Linked DNA regions of Homo sapiens: region 2 is linked to region 1. Evidence: promoter capture Hi-C in 16 types of primary human blood cells and fetal thymus (Javierre and others, 2016). All regions are on one chromosome and are shown on one strand. Each heading gives the region's core, a stretch centred on a gene start or on the middle of the fragment in contact. The rest is flanking DNA. Distances are from core to core; before and after follow the strand shown.

The links. The method cuts DNA at HindIII sites, captures the fragments that hold promoters and counts their contacts. A CHiCAGO score of 5 or more calls a contact.
Region 2: a contact is called between a fragment that was not itself captured here and the fragment with the promoter of SHROOM3-AS1 in region 1, in 1 of 17 cell types (M1 macrophages). The highest score is 5.2, in M1 macrophages.

What each region holds. Positions count from the first base shown.
Region 1 is chr4:76,800,942-76,806,370 of GRCh38, reverse strand. SHROOM3-AS1 (SHROOM3 antisense RNA 1) reads left to right here and starts at 3,908. Exons shown (of 3, transcript NR_187405.1): 1 at 3,908-4,314. RefSeq lists an enhancer at 4,333-5,123. The HindIII fragment of the contact is 9,780 bases long and covers 1-5,429 here.
Region 2 is chr4:76,546,811-76,552,465 of GRCh38, reverse strand. All of the region lies in intron 1 of SHROOM3 (shroom family member 3), which reads right to left. Among named protein-coding and RNA genes, the nearest start is that of MIR4450, 24 kb to the left of the region's middle. The HindIII fragment of the contact is 1,537 bases long and covers 1,901-3,437 here.

The DNA of each region.
Region 1 (5,429 bases), core at 2,659-5,158:
TGCTACTTAACAGTGCTACTCCAAATGTACCAGTAAGTCTATAATTATTTTTCTTACATCTTATTTGTTACAGCTTCACATTTAGTAAGTCTTAATAAATGTTTTTCAATGAAGTCAACTTCTTTAAAACAATTATAATATTTTTAACATTAAAAAAACATAGTTTAATAATAAAATGGGTCTCGCTAGCCCAGCATGGTGTCTCATGCCTGTAGCACTTGGGGAAGCTGAGGCAGGAGGATTGCTTGAGTCCTGGAGTTTGAGACCAGCCTGGCCAACATATGGAGACCCTGTCTCAAAAAAAAAAAAAAAAAAATTAGCCAGGCATGGTGGCACAAAACTGTGGTCTCAGCTACCCAGGAGGCTGAGGCTGCAATGAGCCGTGATTATGCCGCTGCATTCCACCTTGGGCAGCAGAGCGAGACACTGTCTCAAAATCATCATCATCTGGATCCTATATCTCAGATTGTGCTAAACAAACCTCAAACACACACACAAACATACCCCCAGAAAGCCAGACAAAAGTTTTATTTAGGAAATAGTGGTAAAGGTTTTTCTCTCAACTTACAAAGAGAAATTAATTCAGAACATTTTATTTTGAGATGCAGTCTCACTGTTGTCCAGGCTGCAGTGCAGTGGCACAATCTCTACTCACTGCAACCTCCACCTCCTGGGTTCAAGCGATTCTCCTGCGTCAGCCTCCTCAGTAGTTGGGATTACAGGTGTGCACCACCACACCTGGCTAATTCTTTGGGATTTTTTTTTTTTTCAGTAGAGATAGGGTTTCTCCATGTTGGCCAGGTTAGTCTCAAACTGTTGACCTCAATTGATCCACCCACCTCGGCCTCCCAAAGTGCTGGGATTACAGGAGTGAGCCACAGCACCCAGTCCAGAACATTTTATTCTTAATGCTAGTATTTAGAGTAAATTTAGATCCAAGAGCATCTTACTTATATTTTATTTTTGTTATGGAAATGTCTAACATACATGAAAGTAGAGAGTCCAGCACAGTGATTCCTGAGTACCTATCACTCAGTTCCAACAATTGGATCTGCTGTTCTTTCAAATGATGCTAATTCTAAAACACTTTTATTCATTTAAAAACAGAGTTAAAAATCAATTAATTTAAAAACACCCTCGTGTGTGGGGTTGGAAAACCAGTCATGGTTTTAAAAGAATAACGTTATTAACAATCACCATCTGGTCATCGGTGGACACCTGAAGGTAGAAAGCCACCGTTTTCAACTGAGTGCCCTACTGGGGGAGAGGGGGTCTCAGACTGCCCAGGCAGGGGAGAGGACTGGCAACAGAGGAATCAGTACTGCCCTGCTGCTCAAATTCCCCAGTAGCTAGTTGAGCCAAGACAAGAAGAGCAATATGTGGGCCACAAGGTTCTTCAGGGGGAAATGGACATCAGAGGTTTTGACTGGGGTCCCAAATTCACAAGGAGCTTCATATTTAGACTTACATGACATCTTTAGTTACATTGTTTTGTGAGTGTGTGTTAAGGGACAATTTTTTAGTGTAAACACCTAAGATATTCTACAGTTTGTGTGACTTTTTGGCATTTATCAAAATTTTTTTTAAAAAGCGGTTCCGGGATCCTCTGTAAAAAGAAGTGGCTTGAGGTGCTCTTGACCGCTAGAAGACTCTGATAGAGGTTAGGTTAAAAACAAGCAGCACTTCTCAATTTTGGCCAAGATTTTCTTCACTACTAGCTCCTGGCTGAAGCTGATTGAAATAGCGTCAAGGATAAAATTGGGTTCAAGAGTGGCAAAAATGGAAAAAGAAAAAAAAAAGACCCAGAAGCCAATTAAATAAGGTGGTTGGAAAGGCAGGAAGGGAAGCAAAAAGGAAAAAATAAGAGATAAAGATAGGGTGGAGCACACTGCGAAGAGACCTGGCCGAGAGGAGAGGAGCAGTGTTCTCTTGGGGTCCACAAAAGGAAGTCTGGACTTAATTTTATTTAATCCAAGTGCTTTTGGCTTTCTTAGAAAGCAGGAAGCCAAGGCACAAAAAGTCAGGATCTTGATAATTAAATTTTTTTAAACCGGAAAGCAAATACCAGGATTTTCCCTAGAGACACACTCACCACAGGACACATGGGCGAGGGAGAGCCTGAATTGCTGTTTCTTATATAAACATTAAAACCCAAGGCTTTCCATCTGTCCCCACCCCTCACCCCCAATCCCCAACTGGTAGCTGTGAGAGTCCTCAATGAGACTCCTAGGAGGGCTTCCCACCGTCTGGGGCCACTCTGCTTCTCTGTAAGGGGGAAAACAATGAGAGGAATTCAGGGTTCCCTACTAGGCTGGCGCTGACCCACGATGGGGAAGCAGCCTCTTGGCGAAGAAAGGAGGAAGAAAGAAGAATTGCTGACTTGATTCCCCTCCCTCCCAAGGAACCCGGGAGGAGGGCATTGAGAAGTTGGTAGCATCCTGGAGAAAGGGTGGCCTTTGTGAAAAGTGCAGGCTCCACTGGATGCTTGAAATGACTGCTCCTGCCACCCTTTCTAAGGTCTCCTCCAGAAGGAGGGAGGAGCGCAGTGAGAGTGGGATGAGGACTTACTTCATCACACAAGGAAGGCTGGTGAACCAGTGACCACTGGGTGAAGAAAGAGAACTAGGGTCTGGAGAAGAGCCAATCGAGAAAGCCTGTGGGGCGGCTCATTAATGAGCTCATCCATCCAGGCAGGTTAAATTGCAGGCAACTGGGTTGCCCAGGAAGCAGCTGAAGTTTAGAGACTAAACAATATGCAATCACGATAATTTCCTCTGCCTGTGACTCATCTCGGAGGGTGTCCAGGTGATGGTGCAAAGATAGACTGAGAAAGAAGGCCTTTCTTTTCTAATAGCAAATGCAGAGAGAGCAGGAGCAATATTGTCAGGAATGCATTTCTCAGAAATCTAAAGAAGTGTTTTGTCACTTTATTTATAACATTTCAAAACTATTTTTGACTCGCACTACCTAATTACTTTGATTTTAGGTAGTGCAAAGCTCTTTGTAATACATAATAAACACACGCTTCCTCCCGCACCCCACTTAGGGAGAAAACAGAATGTTGGGCTTTTGCAGCCTGACAAGTTTATGTAACAAGCAGCATCCTTTTTGCTGTTTATGCATGAAGGGAAGCCATGGGAAAAATGGATGAAGTGTGGAATTCCAAGATTTTAATAAATATCAAACACAAGAAAAACTCTCCACTTGGTTGGGATGAATCGTGTTCTTCGTCAACTGCCTGTTAAAGCATTTTGATTCCATCTCAGGGAGGAGGAGGGAGGCAAGAAGGAGGAAAGAAACATCTTCAGGGTGCTCTTAGCAATGCATTCTTGCTTCCCGGCCCATGGCCTCTTTTCTCCTTAGAACTGTTTTTATCTTTTTTGGAGAACAAAGCCTCTTTCAACATTCCTTAGCTTACAGATGGGTAATGAGGCAAGAAGGAGGTGAAGTATCCTCACCGGCACCCAATATGAACCCAGTTCTCAAGTCCACTTATTTTTTTTAAACCTCACTGTCTCTGTTGTAGGGTTAATTCTCCTCCCGCCGCCTCTCTCAGGCCACTTCCCCTCCCCTCCCTGTGTATTTGCAGTCACAGAGCTCGTCTCAGAGGGGAGAGGAGAAGAGCTATTTGATCCTGGCCTCATGTCCATCAGGGGCCTCACATACGGCCTTTAGGCCTTATCTCCAGATGAGCTTATGCAGGCAGTCATTACAGTTGCATGCGTGTAAACAACACTGGTAATCAAGGCGGAGCTTTAAAATACAGCACAATTACAACTTTTTGTAGCTGTTTGGCATGTCTTCATTTAAAAAATACATTTAGGGCTTCAAAAGAAGTGGCTCAGGCCTCTTTCACCCGAGAAGCCTTGCGTGCACTGTTAGCAAACTCACACAAGTGAAGAGGGACCTTTCTTTGCTACACAGCGTCCTCCGTGGCGAGCTGGAGGGAAGCGCTCTCAGCAGAGAGGGTCGCCCTCACCAAGAAGCCAAAGGGAAGAGGACAGAATCTATCTTGTAGGGACGCCCTTGGTCTTCAGAAGGAACACTTTTTCTGTTTCACAGAGATCTGTGGAATGTGTGGGTTCCCTGAAGAGGTGGACGGACCCCCGGGGTCGCGCGTTTTCTCAGCCCTGGGCCCGTAGCGGAGCTCGATCCTTCCAGAGCTCAGGGCCAGAAATGTTGCGATTCCGAACACTTTGCCTTTCTTCTGAGAGGAGCCGCCCGGCAGACGCTCATCATTAAGAAGCAACGTAATTAACAACGAATGTTTCCCCTTGGCGCTAATGCGAACACCCTGGGGAACTGCCAAGTCTGGTAGGGGAATCGCAGCCGGGGGTGTCTGGGGGAAGCCAGCGTGGGCGGGCGCGGTGGGCCTGGGATTGCTTTTAGGCGCAGCAGCAAGGAGGGCGAGGGCGAGTGGAACAGAGGTCGGAGACCTTGCTAAGCTGCTGGCCTTTTCACGTTTCGGACCCTGAGAGTAAGCTGAGAGAATGGATGGGGTCAAGGCTGGGACAGGCTGTTGGCTACTGCCGGTGGGAGGGAATCCGGGCGGGAGACTGAGACCGGGCGGAAAGGAGGGAGACAGAGCACTCCCTCTAGGCGCTGAGGTCCGACACCCGCTTGATTTGTCAGTGCCGCCAACAGCCCTCCTCCTGTTGTCAGCAAGGACAGTCGGTAGGGCCTGCTGAGGGCCAGGCACAGTGCAGGGGCGAGCGCCCAAAGGTAGGGATCAGCCGCTGGTCTCTGTGCCCAGGGGTTCAAGGCCTGGGAGGAGACAGGCTTTGAAGACTTATAAAACAGTTGTGGGTGCTAATTTAGACATATTCCAGACATAGTCACAGGGCAGTCCCGACCAGAGGAGTTTAAGTCAGTGTTGTTACAATGCTTTATTTAATTAATATTATTTTTGGAAGGCTGTGTGCACCTGGAGGAGGCCAGCGGCTGTGTCTGTTTTGTTCACTGCTCTATCACTCCCACCTGGGATAACTCTTGGCAAATATGATGACAGCACCCATTGACGAGGTGCTTAAGATATATAAGGTTGGTGCAAAGTATTTATACGGTGCACCATATAAATACTTTATATTTGGCAGTCATCTGATCCTCAGCATAGCCTCGAGAGAGATTAGCCCCATTTTACAGATTATCAAACTAAGGCAAAGGATAATAGTGAATCTGGGTCTGAATGTAGTCCGTCTGGCTACAAAACCTGTGTTTTAAAATCATAGGCATAAATTGACTCAGAACTTGAAGAATGACTAGGAGACCAGGAGGGGTTGGGTCGGGGGAATTTTTGCTTTTATTTTCATAGTTTTGCTTCTCAGGTGTTGAGAGTAGTGCACCCTAAAAGTCCCGCTCATGTTTTGGTTGCCTGTGCTTGAGGGATATTACTCAAGAAACCTTTGCCCAGTCCAATGTCCTGGAGCGTT
Region 2 (5,655 bases), core at 1,420-3,919, 250 kb after region 1:
GCACAGTCTTGGCTCACTGCAACCTCAGCCTCCTGGGTTCAAGCAATTCTCCCATCTCAGCCTTTTGAGTAGCTAGGACTATAGGCGTGTGCCAACAGGTCTGGCTAATTTTTGTATTTTTTGTAGAGATGGGCTTTTGCTGTGTTGCCTGGGCTGGTCTTGAACTCCTGGGCTCAAGTGATCCTCCCACTTTGGCCTCCCAAAGTGGTGAGATTACAGGCATGAGCCACTGTGCCTGGCCAATATATACTATTTTAATATATATAAAATAGCTTTTATTTTATAAATAACAATTAAAAATTTAGGCCAGGCGCAGTGGCTCATGCCTGTAATCCCAGCAATTTAGGGGGGCCGAGGCGGGCGGATCACAAGGTCAGGAGATCGAGTCCATCCTGGCTAACACGGTGAAACCCCGTCTCTACTAAAGATACAAAAAATTAGCCGGGCGTGATGGCGGGCGCCTGTAGTCCCAGCTACTCGGGAGGCTGAGGCAGGAGAATGGCGTGAACCCAGGAGGCAGAGCTTGCAGTGAGCCGAGATCGCACCACTGCACTCCAGCCTGGGTGACAGAGCGAGACTCTGTCTCAAAAAAAAATAATAATAATAATTCTTCTTTTTCCCATTTTCAGATAATCAAGTGGACAAAATAATATATAAATGTAAAGTGACATCTAATAGTTTATTATTTTTATACTGCTTGAACTTGCTGCTGTGGTTACACACCCTGAATTTCAGCAAAGCTATTTATGTCTATGTCTGTTCCCCACTCACAGTCCCACCCCTCCCCACCTTGGACTGTGAAGTTATTGAAGAGACTTCATGAGAAATCATGACTCCATCCTTTCCTCCCCCAGCATGCCTCTCCAGAGCTTTGCACACAGGACCTACTCAGAAAATATTGGTTCGTTCATTCAATAAATATTTATGAACAGCCACTACTGTGGTCAGCTATGGTGCTAAAAGCTGCGAGTACAGTGATGAACACTGTAGATACGGTCTTGCTCATGTTGCAGTTTGTGAAATTGCATCCCTTCAGTATTATTTGCCAACAATTTCAACGAAATGAGACCTAGGAAACAATCAATTTCTTATATTAAAAAAGGAAGTCAAGAAAGCTCATTTGTATAGTTTATATCATGTCCTCATGACTGATTTGATGTGAAAGCAAACATTATGGGGAAGACTGTCATAAAGAGTTTCATTGTTGTTCACTGTTCTTATAAACTATTTCTTTAACCTTTTGTATTTACAGAGTTCCTCACAATCTCTTCGTTTTGCACTGCACTTTTAGAATTAGCCGGATGTGGTGGCACATGCCTGTGGTCTCAGCTATGCAGGAGGCTGAGGTGGGAGGATCGCTTGGGCCCAGGAGGTTGAGGTTGCAGTGAGCCAAGATTGCACCATTTCATTCCAGTCTGGGCAACAGAGGGAGACCCTGTCTCGAAAAAAAATTCATCCTAGCCCCCAAGTGAGGGTTCTCTCTCTGCTGCTCAAGCTGGAGTGCAGTGGTGTGATCTCAACTCACTGTAGCCTCAAACTCCTGGACCCAAGCAATCCTCCCACCTCAGCCTCCTCAGTAGCTGGGATCACAGGCATGTGCCACCATGCCTGGGGAAATTTTTTTATTTTTTGTGGAGACAGGTCTCACTATGTTGCCTAGGCTGGTCTTGAACTCCTGAACTCAAGCAAGCCTCCCGCTTCAGCCTCCCAAAGTTCTGGGATTACAGATGAAAGCCACTGCACCTGGCCATGGGATGACGTTTTTGAAATGGCACTTATTTGTCAAACATTTCATGGGCCCCTACTTCATGTTTTGATTCTCACATCTCTCCATACTGTCTCTCAGGGATTTGTGCTGTCTTGGGGTTTTAATTATTACCAAAGAAGATTTTTAGAAGCTTTCTTCAACAGTGATCTTTTGTAGAAGGCCCATCCCACATTTCTAGTTTCCTTTTCCTCCTTTTTTCCTCCAAATACTCTTCCATTATGAAATGTCTCCTTATCAACCCAGGCAGAATCTATTTCATCCTCTCCTCTTAATGGTTTCTGTCTTAAGACAAGCCTCAGTCACTACCTTTGTCATAGGTATTTCTGACCATGCCCTATCTGCTCTTCTAGGTCCTAAACTCTTTGAGGTCAGAAACTTGGTGAACACATTCATTCTTTCATTCATCTCACAAGTATTTTTTAAGCATCTATCATTGGCAGGCATAATTCTAGGGCTGGGAAAATATCAACAAAGGAAACACGGTGTTCTCTCCTTTCCCAGAGTTTATATTCTAGTATACTTTTAATATATTTCATATCATTGTACTTAAAAAACATGCACATTCACTGGGACATGTCAGAGAGCCTATACTGATAAAAAAAAATTAAAACGCACACACAAAAAATTAGGCTGGATTCTTTCTGTGCTTAAATTGATCCATTTAAACAACACTCCCTCAGAGGTCAGCCAATTTCCAGCAAGTCAAAGGAGCCCTGGGAAGTTTGCTTGGTGCCAGGATTCCTCCAGAGGATCCACTCCTAAAGGTGGAGTCCCAGTAGGTCCAAGGGAGGACTTGAATTGAGCCAGCTGGGGGCCAAGTGTAGACTCTTAGTCTAACTCATTTCAGTTAACTGGATTAAGGGATGCTCCATCAGCCTGTGGATTCCTTAGGACCCTCACATTCCCCTCCTCCCTCTTTGTTGCTGCTGGCCCTTTCCTGACCTTTCTATTTGGTAGCATCAGTGTCTGTGGATGTGATATTTGTTGGCCACTCCTACAATAAACTTGGTTGCCAAGAAAGTTGAAGCCACTGCCGGGCGCAGTGGCTCACACCTATAATCCCAGCACTTTGGGAGGCCAAGGCAGGCAGATCACAAGGTCAGGAGTTCGAGACCAGCCTGACCAACATGGTGAAACCCCGTCTCTACTAAAATTACAAAAATTAGGCGGGCATGGTGGCACGCACCTGTAATCCTAGCTACTCAGGAGGCTGAGGTAGAAGAATCATTTGAACCCAGGAGGCACAGGTTGCAGTGAGCCAAGATCGCTCCACTGCACTCCAGCCCGGGCAACAGAGCGAGACGCCATCTCAAAAAAAAAAAGGAAAGAAAGTTGAAGCCATTGGCTAGAACAAGGCTGTGAATTACCTTAATCTATGGTGTTGTCTCCATTTATTATCATGAATGATAAATTAAGATATTGAGGTGCATTTGTTGATGCACTGGTAACAACACATTTGATTGTACTGAGGCTAACTAAATGCATACATCGTAAGTTTGTACCAATTATCCACACAATTTATCTTAAAAACATTATTATGACTAAAAAAACCTTGTTTACAAAAAGTTTAACAGTAATTTTTTTGAACTATTCATCAGGGATTTAGACTCTTCTAACTCCAAGCCCTGCTGATACTCTCTGTCAACAAGATTCAGTGGAAAATGAAGCTTATTATTTTAAACTTTTGGACCAATTACTTCAGCAGCTAAAAAGGTTACTGGCATTGTTTGTCCAAGTTCACCTGCATGGAACTTACTTATTCCAAGAATGCGACTGTCAACAGGTTAAATGACTTCAGATAACACACCGTGTGCAACTGGGTGGGAAATCCCTAAGCTAACAAGCTAAGGAGAGGGTGTATATCCGCACATTGGAGCCCGGAAGCTAAGCACGCTTTTTCCCTTCTCAAATCCTAAATATACCCACACCTATAGGAGAAGTCGACTTTGCTTTGATGACACAGTGTTACTTTTCTGACATAAGAGGCGTTGATTTTTTAATTGTTTACAGCCTTTTATGTCACTGTACTATTTAGCACCTAACATAGTGCCTGCACGTAATGAGTGATCGGTAAACATTTATTGAACAAATACTGGGGAAACTGACTTTGAAGAACAGCACGGTGATATACACTGTGATGAGAGTACATTCAAAAATACAGGTGTAGGCACAAAGGAAGAGTGGTGGATGCCTATGTCACAGCTTGACGTGGTGCTTTGAGGCACAGAAAGCCAGGCCCATCTCTTTTCCTCATGCTTAACCACTCTAGCCCAGTCTAAGTGAGAAAGGGTGGAGCTGCTGTTATGGGGATTGGTCCTGTGTTGTGCTTCTCCAGGGTTTGTGCCCTCCCTGTGACCCTCCTCATCACACTTAGAAGAGAAACCGCAGTCCTCCCTCTGTACCAAAGGCCCTGCCGTGCTGGATTTGACCTCCCTGCTGCTTCACTTCTTAGTGTTCTCCACTGGATCACTCAATACCAGCCCCTGGCCTTCCAGCGGCACAGGGAGCATGGCAGGCACTGTCTTCCTTCAGGGGCCTTAGACTTGCTGTTCCCTCAGCCTGGAATGCTTTTCCCCCAGGGAACCATTTGACTTTTTCCCTTACCTCCTCCAGGTCTTACACAAATTCGTCTTCCAGAGGGGGCCTTTCCTAGCTACCGCTTTAAAATTTCAGCCTCCCCTAATACTACTTATCTTCCTCCGCATTGTTATTTTCTCATTAACACTTAATTCATGACGTGTGTGTGTGTGTGTGTGTGTGTGTGTTTTGAGACAGGGCCTTGCACTGTCACCCAGGCTGGAGTGCAGTGATGCAATCTCGGCTCACTGCAACCTCTGCTTCCTGGGTTCAAGTGATTCTCCTGCCTCAGTGTCTCGAGTAGCTGGGACTATAGGCGCACGCTACCACATCCAGTTAATTTTTGTATCTTTAGTAGAGACAAGGTTTCACCATGTTGGCCAGGCTGATCTCGAACTTCTGACCTCAAGTGATCCACCCACCTCAGCCTCCCAAAGTGCAAGGATTACAGGCATGAGCCGCCGCGCCTGGCCATGAACTCTATTTTTTACTTACGTATCTTGCTTATTGTCTGTCCTCTACTGGAATGTCAGCCCCACGAAGGCAGGGATTTGTGTCTGTCTTGTTTACTGCTGTATCCCCGACGCCCAGAACAGCATGGAGCACATAGCAGTGCCCACTATTTATTGCATAGATACATTAATTATCATCATGATTGCAACCAGATGTTGAGGGCTTCGTGTGTTCCAGTAACTTTATCGCATCAAATTGTCACAACAACACAATAAGGTTATTATAATTGTATTTTTATAGAAATGAGAATACCAAGGCTCAGAAGAAGGCAATGACTTGCTCCATGTTGCACAGTCAGTAAAACAATAGAGCTGGGATTAGAATTCAAGACTAACCTCAGAGCCCACATTCTCCAGCCTGCTGCCTGAGAATCGCCCAGACATTTGTCCCTAAAGTAACACTTCACTTGTCCTGCCTAATCCTTCAAGTGCCCAAGAAACCTGACACTCAACACTGCTGTGTTCTGATCCTTCTCTTTCAGGGATCCTAAAATCTCTGAACCTATTATAGTGGTTTACAGGCTTAACAGCATTCACAGCTTACACATGAGAAAAAGAGCTGGCACGCACTGCCGGTGGAGCAGGAAGCTGACCTTGCTACATCAAACTGAACAGGGAATGATTCATTTACAAACAACTCCACTTGGAGTTTTAATTAACATTAAACTCATCCGGTAGAAGTCTACCACAGCAGAATTTAGCCAACTTTTTATGTTTAAATTCTTGAATGATTTCTTTGCCTTTCCTGGCTACTTTCATTCCTAGATGAAGATAAAGGCAGGGGTATGTGATTGAGGG